2 separate regions of the Homo sapiens genome follow, and region 2 is linked to region 1. The links are contacts of gene promoters, found by promoter capture Hi-C in human tissues and cell types (Jung and others, 2019). All regions are on one chromosome and are shown on one strand. Each heading gives the region's core, a stretch centred on a gene start or on the middle of the fragment in contact. The rest is flanking DNA. Distances are from core to core; before and after follow the strand shown.

Region 1 (3,942 bases), core at 457-2,956:
AGGATCCAGAAATCACACTCCTTGGGATTTACCCAAAAGAAGTGAAAACTTATGTCCACACAAAAACCTGCATACACATATATATGAATATATGGCACAATGGTGAAGTCTGGGCTTTTAATGAAGCCATCCTAAATAGCATGCATTGTACCCACTAAGAAATGTCTCATCCTTCACCCACCGCCTCACCTGCTGCCCTTCACAGTCTCCAGTGTCTATGATTCTACTCTCTACCTCCATCTGTATGCATGATGTAGCTCCCACTTACACATGAGGTTGCACAGTATTTGACTTTCTGAGTAATTTCACTTAAGATAATAGCCTCCAGTTCCATCCATGTTGCCGCAAAAAGCGTGATTTCATTCTTTTTTTATAGCTGAGTAGCATTCCACTGTGTGTGTGTGTATGTATCTTTTGCTGTTAAAAGTAATATTGCCATCACATGGGGAACTGGGAGAGGGAGAAACAGGTCCCCCTGGTTACATAGGTACTGACGAGAAGGAAGTTGAAGAAAGATGATGGGTGGAGAAAATAGGTCCCACCTAGGGAGACATCACATCAGCTCTGTGGAGCCCCAGAGTGCTTAAAGGGCTGGCACTAAATGAACCTGGAACTCTCTTGCACCCTAAAAGGAACATTGCAAGGGGGTAGCAGAAAAAGTCCATTTCAGTGATTCATCATCTCCCTTTCCTCACCATGCCCCAGGGATTCCCATGCCTTCCCAACCCTCTTGCCCCTACCTGGGTCAGCCTTTCCACAGCAGGTTAGGGCACATTATAGCCAAGGGCACAACTCCCAACTCCTACACAGGCTGTTTTGCATAGGAGGAGGAAAAACACTGAAGACTTTCTGGGAAGTTAGTGCCATGGGGCAGGAAAGAACTTTTCCCACTCCCTGCCTCCAGGCTCATTCCATGGGGGGGTCACTCCACCACTCAACCTAGATAGTGAGGCCCCTGACCCCAGTCCCCCCACCTAATTCCAGGGCTTCTGTGAGGGGCTGACCAATGGTTAGCAATGAAGTAACCCTGCTTCCCTCCCTGGACTTTGAGTTCCCATAGGGCAGACCCTGATGTGACCCAAGACCTATAGCACAGGGGATAAGAGTAAGGATTTGATTCAGGCTTTTCTGAGTCCATATAATGATTTGTTGTGTTTACTAGCTGAGTAAACTTGGGAACATCTCAACTTCTCCTTTCCTAAAATAGAGATTGAAGCACCTCTTAGGACTATGAGGGTTGAGGAGGATGCAGGAGCAGCAGGTATCTTGATATCTAGACATTAAAATGCTCAGTCAGCGGTGGGGGTCATAGAACAGGCTGTCATAACAAATGTGTGGAAGGATAAGGGGAGGGAACAAACAAGACCATGCTGCCTTCAGGAGTCTGAAACTCCATCCTCTTTGGGTCCAGAGGCCCAGTGCTCTTTTCTCCCATTTTCTGACCTGCTACTACACATGTACCGCTGCCTTACCCTCAAATCAAGGTTGAGCCAGAGAAGACTCCAGGTGAGGTCTCTGGGGTGGGGTGGGACCTGGTGACCTGGGACACTGGCCAGAAATCCTGAGCACAGCCTCCTGGGTGTGTCCCACCCACCTGATGTGGGGCAAGCCTCCAAGAAACAGATGACAGAGGTGGCCCCAGGCCTCCCAGCCCCTGGGAAGAGCCAGGCTGAGCCTTATAAAGGACTGCTCTTTGTCCAAACACACACATCTCACTCATCCTTCTACTCGTGACGCTTCCCAGCTCTGGTAAGTCTCACCTGCCTCTTTGCGTTTTCTAGAAGTGCCCAGTGCCTGGCCTGCCATGCTGCCTGTAGGAAGGGAAAGGGCTGTGGACAAAGACTCAGAAGCCTGGGTCTAGGCCAGCTCTGCCATTAGCTGGGCTGTGTGACCTTCACTTGACCCCAAAAGCCCACGTCTGTATAACCAGGTGGCTGAACCAGACCTGTCCATTGCTCCTTTGGGATCTCCTGAGGCAACTCCTGTGGAAATGTCCCCAGTGGGACCTGAGCACAGGACCCTCCCTGTCCTCTTCCTCCCTGGATTCATCCTCCTGTTGGGGTCCCGGTTGCTAAATCCCCTCCCCAGCTCCAGCTCCACAGAGGGTGGAGGGCTAGGGGTCCCCTGTGAATGCTTTGGAGGCTCTCCAAACCCCCAGGCCTGGGACCCCGACACAGCATAGCCCTGGCCAGATGGCTTGCCCCTACCTGGGTAAGGTATTGAGAAACCAACGCTCCGTCACTCCCTACCACAACCTGCAAATTGTCAGTCACCCTCTGGGCACAGGGCTTGCCCTCTGGCCTTGGCCTCAGATTCAAAAAAGCTCTGGGTGGCTCCTCTTAGTCAGTTGCCGGCATGGAGCTTTCTCCTGCATTGAGAGGTGTTGGGGGTTTATTGTCAGACACCCATATGCATTAGCCAAGGTCCTTTCCTGGTTCTTTGGAAAGTGTGGGAAGTGAGAACTGCACTGTCCTATTTTTCAGGCTTGGGGTGCAGGCCAGCCCAGACTGACTACTGGCTGAAAGATCTGCTTTGGGAAGTCAGACATTTTTATTTAAACAGTCAAGGCTTGGTGATTCAGAGGGTGCAGATAATTCCCAAGAGCAGACATGAAGTGACTCCCACCTCACTCCCACCCCGTCCAGCAGCTTAAGAACCAGAGAGTTATTTCTGTTCCTTGTAACAGAGGCCATTCCTGTTTCTCGTTCCCAAGGGAATACAAGAAGGGCCCCCTGTGCTCGGGACAGGACTGTGTTTCCTGCTAACACTCACGTCCACGCTCACATGTGCACCTGGAGCCTGCACACACCGTGTCATGCAGGGCTTGCACTTGAGTCAAGGTGGGGCCCACGGTGTCTGGTTCCTGAAGCAGCCGAGGAGGGTCAGACACCAGATCACCAAGGCCATTGTCCTGCCCCCATGACTGTCACCCCGACTGTGAAGCTGGAGGAGATGGATTTGGTGCTCTTTTAAGAGTGGGGTCTGCCATGTGCTGGCTGAGGCTGGGGTGTCCCAGCTTAGTTCTTCCATGTGTTGCTGGCGCCCGACTCTCCCTGCTTCTCCCTCTCTGAAGCACTGTCCACAGCTGGACTTCCGCCATCCACCTGCATCTCCTCTTGGCCCTGGCCAGGATGGGCCAGGTCTCAGACTTGGTCCTACCCTCTCATTTTTGAGCAACTTATCCCATCACATTAAAAAAAAATTGAGTTCGTTCTGCTACACCTTATCCGTGTTTTTACTCTGTCCTCAGCCCTCCTTCCAGCACTCCCAAATAGAGACCCTAACTTAAATGAAGGGAAAAAAATGATTGTCTTTATTTCCTGAAGGCTTTTTGAAAGCAAAGATGAGCAACACTCAAGCTGAGAGGTCCATAATAGGCATGATCGACATGTTTCACAAATACACCAGACGTGATGACAAGATTGAGAAGCCAAGCCTGCTGACGATGATGAAGGAGAACTTCCCCAACTTCCTTAGTGCCTGTGTGAGTCGGTGTCTAGCTTCTCAATGTTGGAGGATACATTTTGCTATGTGGCCTTGGACAGATCACCCTCACCCTCTGATTAAAAAATTTCCCATTTGCAAATAGGGCTTTATTACTTGGATCATATGTGAATCTAAGGATGGTAGGCAAAAAAGTATGAAAATGGGAAAGAGTTATACAGATATAAAGGAGGTTATTAGATGGTCAGCAAAGTGTGCAGCTTGAGGGCAGTGCACAGTCCCCTCCCAGCACTCACTGACCCTCTCTCTGTGAGACTGAAACTCACATGCTCAGGTCCTGTTTCCCAAAGGCCCCACATCAACATCCCTGAGATTACTGGGAAAGCACTAGAAGTTCCATTGTTAGTAGAAATCAATAGCCCTCTTTGCAATAAACAAGACTCATTAGCAAATCTGAAAAAAAACTGTGGGCTACTAGGTACCAAAGGGTCTAGATGA
Region 2 (3,896 bases), core at 712-3,211, 56 kb after region 1:
TCACCTGTCTTCTGCTTCGCTGGGAGCTGTAGACTGGAGCTGTTCCTATTCGGCCATCTTGGAACCTCTCCAAAAATATCAAACATATTTGAGACATCCAAAAAACTGATCATTTGTTTTTGCTAAAATCAAAATCTTAGCAAATTAGCTTTAATAGGGGCCTTATCTTTTGCACCTGCTCATCAGGTTGAACCCTGTGAGCCTTTCCCCTGTGTCATGTCTGGAACAAACACTCTCCATAAACCCACCCCATCCTATCACACATCCAACCTCCCAGCCACTGCTGATCCCCCAGGAGAGCTCACAACAGGCTGATTGTGAACAGGAATTTGGCTGGTTGATATCTTCATCTCCTCTATCGTTTTGGGGAGCTCGCCTCTCCCCAGCCTGAAGTAGAAGCAACATACTCCTGGGTCTCTAGAAGATCTCAAGTTGCTGGGGGAAGAGGACAGAAAGCAATTTGTTCTTTTTGCTGTATTTTATCCATTCATTTATGCTGTGAGTGCTGACTCTGTTCTGGGTGTGCAGGTGTCAGGGTGGCAGGGAGATGGAGTGGATGTGGACCATGCTTTGAGCAATGCTCTGGCCCCAGGAGAGAACTCCAATATAAGGCACTGGGTGGTGAGAGAGTAGAGTGGGACAGAGCCCGGAAGCCCCCAGGTCCCCAGGCAGTTCAGTGGTCACTTTCTCTGTGAAGCCTTCTCCAGGCAGAGCCATCATCCCCATGTCCCTGCATGTCTCAGTGACAGCCCTGGCCACACATATGCTATGTTTGCTGCCGCCCAGCCATGTCTTATATTGTGCCCCCAGCCTCCAGTGCAGAGAACTCCATAAACATTGGCCAAACTAGCAAGTGAGGCAGGTGTCTTCAAAAAGGTTCAGATAAAGTGTGTGGGAATTTGGAAGAGGAGAAATCACTTTTCAGGTGGGGGAACCAGGGGAAGCTTTGTAGGGGCATCCTTTCAATAGGCCATAGAGCACTTCCAGGAGCCACGGTGAGAGGGACAGGGCAGAGGGAGCCACGGGAATGTTCCAAGACAGCCAGCTGTTCTGTTTGGGGTCCTTCTGGGTGGTGCTGGCCAGCTGCATCTCTGGACTCGTGCAGCAGTTGGGGGAGCGGGACAGAGAGACAGAGAGAGAGTTCTGCAGCATTCACAAGAGGTTATTAGGACTCAGTTCTGCTGTGAGCCATCCACACTGGAGGATGAGAACACCCAGCTGCAGCCCAGAGCCTGTGGTCCCACTGTTAGGTTTTGAAGGGAAGGCAAGGGTTAAAAAAAGACACAGAGAGAGTTGGTGGCTCTATGGAAATGCAGGTTTTATGTCCAGCACAAGACCTGAGGAGGTGGGGGACAAGCTTAATGCCAGAGCCCCCTGCCGCTTACAGGCTGGGGTAATTTATAGGTCTAGGTGGGGGTCTGGGCAGTATGGCTAGCTCGCCGGGAGGATATTGATAAGATGTTCCTGTGATCAGGCGGTTTGGACCTTTTTCCAGCGGGATGTGATAGGCTGTTTCTTGGACCTTTGCCCCGCAGGATATGATGGGGATGTTCCTTCAGTTGCGCCTTTGCCCAGCAGGGTATGATAAGGATGCTCTTGTGCCTTGCGGTCAGGTGGTTAGGCAGGATGTTTCTCACGGCCTGAATCCACATGGAATGTTTCACTCTGACCAGGGTCCGCAAAATGGCAGGGGGCTTACAAAATGGTGCAGTTTGGACTAACACCCACCATCCTGTCGAATGGGTTTGCTGGGAGGATTTACTGTCAATTCTGTTAGCCTGATAAGGGAGGTTGCTTTCTCGGAGGCCGCATACACAGACAGTGCTAGGAAGTGACCCAAGCGTACCCTGAGAAATGTATCTGTTCAACCAAATTTCAAGTTGGCAATGATCATTCCTCATCTCGCCCAATTTTAAGACGAGGCTGGGCCGTGTAGGTAAAACTGGCAAGCTGGAGAAAGCAGTGCGGGGTGGGGGGGACTCCAGGAAGGCTCCTTGGCCAAGGAGGACTGTAGGATTCTGACTTACACTGTAAGGGCTGTTCCTGTTACAGTTGGCCCCAGTCAGAGGCCCAGGACAAAACTCTGGCCCTGAGTGCAGAGAATTGGTTTTCTGTTTCCCAAGCTTCCACACGGTGGCGCCACCGAGCACCCACCTCGCCCTGGTTGTCGCCGGAGGCAGTACCACGTGGCTGGGTCCTTCGTGGTTCCCGCCCTTCTGTAGGTTGTGAGTCCCACGTCGGGCACCAATCTTGCACCTGTTAAAAAAAGAGATCTTCACCAAAAGCTTCTGAAAGGCAGAGGGCTTTTCTTACTTAATTTGTATTCTTTTCTCTCTCCAATGCTTACCAGAGGACACTGCATAAAATAGTATATTGGGGACACAATTGTTAATCAAGTGGTAGAAACAGGAAGAGATAAAAATAATTAAATTTTTAGTAATGGTGGGTTAAGTAAATCTTGATGCCTATACACATGGAATCCCTGTGATGATACGAAATGGACATTTGGTCTTTGTCCCTGTTCCTGACACCGAGCGTCTGAAATCCTTGGAATCTCCTGAATGACAGGGGAGAGGGAGCATCTTTTGTTATTCATAACAATCCCCTTCCAGTCATGCTGAGTGTGTGCTAATGAGGTGACTCTTGGTGGACCCCTAGATAGCTTCAGGATGGGGCTGGTTGCCAGAGGAAGCAACCATGTGATTAGAGGGCTGGAGCTTTCAGCCCCACACTGGGCCTCCACAGAGCGGCTGGGGAAGGACTTCAATCACCAGTGGCCAATTATTTAATCAACTATGCCTAAATGAAGTGACTGCCATAGAAACCCCAAACGATGGGGTTCAGAGAACTGTAGGGCTGCTGAGCAGGTGGGGTGCCGGAAGGGTGGGCTCCTGGAGTGGGCCTGGGAGCTCCATGCTGCCCCTCATACATGGCCCTGTGTGTCTCTTCCACGTGGCTTTTCCTGAGTTGTACTCTTTGTAATAAACCAGTAATCATGAGTAAAGTGCCTCCCTGAGTCCTGTGAACTCTTGTAGCAGATTATCTAACCTGAGGAGGGGGTTTGTAGGAACCTCCAATTTTAGCCAGTCAGTCAGAAGTATGGGCGGTCAGGTGCTGCGATTGGCATCTGCAGTGGGGGCAGTGTTGTGGGGCTGAGCCTTCACCTTGTGGGGTCTGTGCTAACTCTTGGTAGTTAGGATCAGAACGGAATTGCACGATACCCCGATGGTGTTCAGAGTGTTGGAGAATTGGTTGGTGTGGGGATTTTAAAAAAAGGAAATATAACCCCCACACATTTGGCGTCAAAAGTGTTGTTAGTCAGAATGGTTCTGGAATTCCATATAATGTAGCTATTTGGAATCAATCACTCAAAAATATTTAAGAACTGGGGAGATGTTTTAAACATAGTCCTAATTGAAAAAGCAGATCATAAAACAGCTGGGAAAGGGCAGGGCCGTGGCCCACAGGGTGGACGTGGAGTGGGGGTGGGGAGGGGGTTAATGTGACATGATTGCTCCACATGAGACAAGGCCACGGAACTCAGGAAACAAAGCTTGTTTTGAGCAAGAGTCGTGTCAGATTTCGACAGGAGGTAGAGCAGAGAGAAGATATCTTTACATAGGTGAAGCTAACAGTTCATGATAAAGTGTTCTCAGCCTTCACATTCACAGTCAATTGATTTTCAACAAGCCCGCCAAGCCAATTCAATGGAGAAAGAATAGTCTTTCCAACACATGATGCTGGGACAAGTGGACAGCCACATGCAAAATAATGAAGCTGGACCCCTTCCTTCCTTCATACACACAAATTAACTCAGAATAGGTCACAGCCCTACACATAAGAGCTAAAACTAAAACTCTTAGAAGAAAATATAGAAGTAAATCTTCAAGACTGAG

What was found. The method cuts DNA at HindIII sites, captures the fragments that hold promoters and counts their contacts. A contact is called where the count stands out against the background at its distance.
Region 2: a fragment that was not itself captured here is called in contact with the fragment with the promoter of S100A7 in region 1 in 20 of the 25 tissues and cell types used here (H1 embryonic stem cells, IMR-90 fibroblasts, adrenal gland and 17 more).

The regions. Positions count from the first base shown.
Region 1 is chr1:153,458,415-153,462,356 of GRCh38, reverse strand. It overlaps S100A7 (S100 calcium binding protein A7), which reads left to right and starts at 1,706. Exons shown (of 3, transcript NM_002963.4): 1 at 1,706-1,749; 2 at 3,327-3,484. The coding sequence starts at 3,344. The HindIII fragment of the contact is 11,087 bases long and covers 1-3,942 here.
Region 2 is chr1:153,403,166-153,407,061 of GRCh38, reverse strand. It overlaps a transcript of S100A8 not described here. Among named protein-coding and RNA genes, the nearest start is that of S100A7A, 11 kb to the left of the region's middle. The HindIII fragment of the contact is 3,683 bases long and covers 120-3,802 here.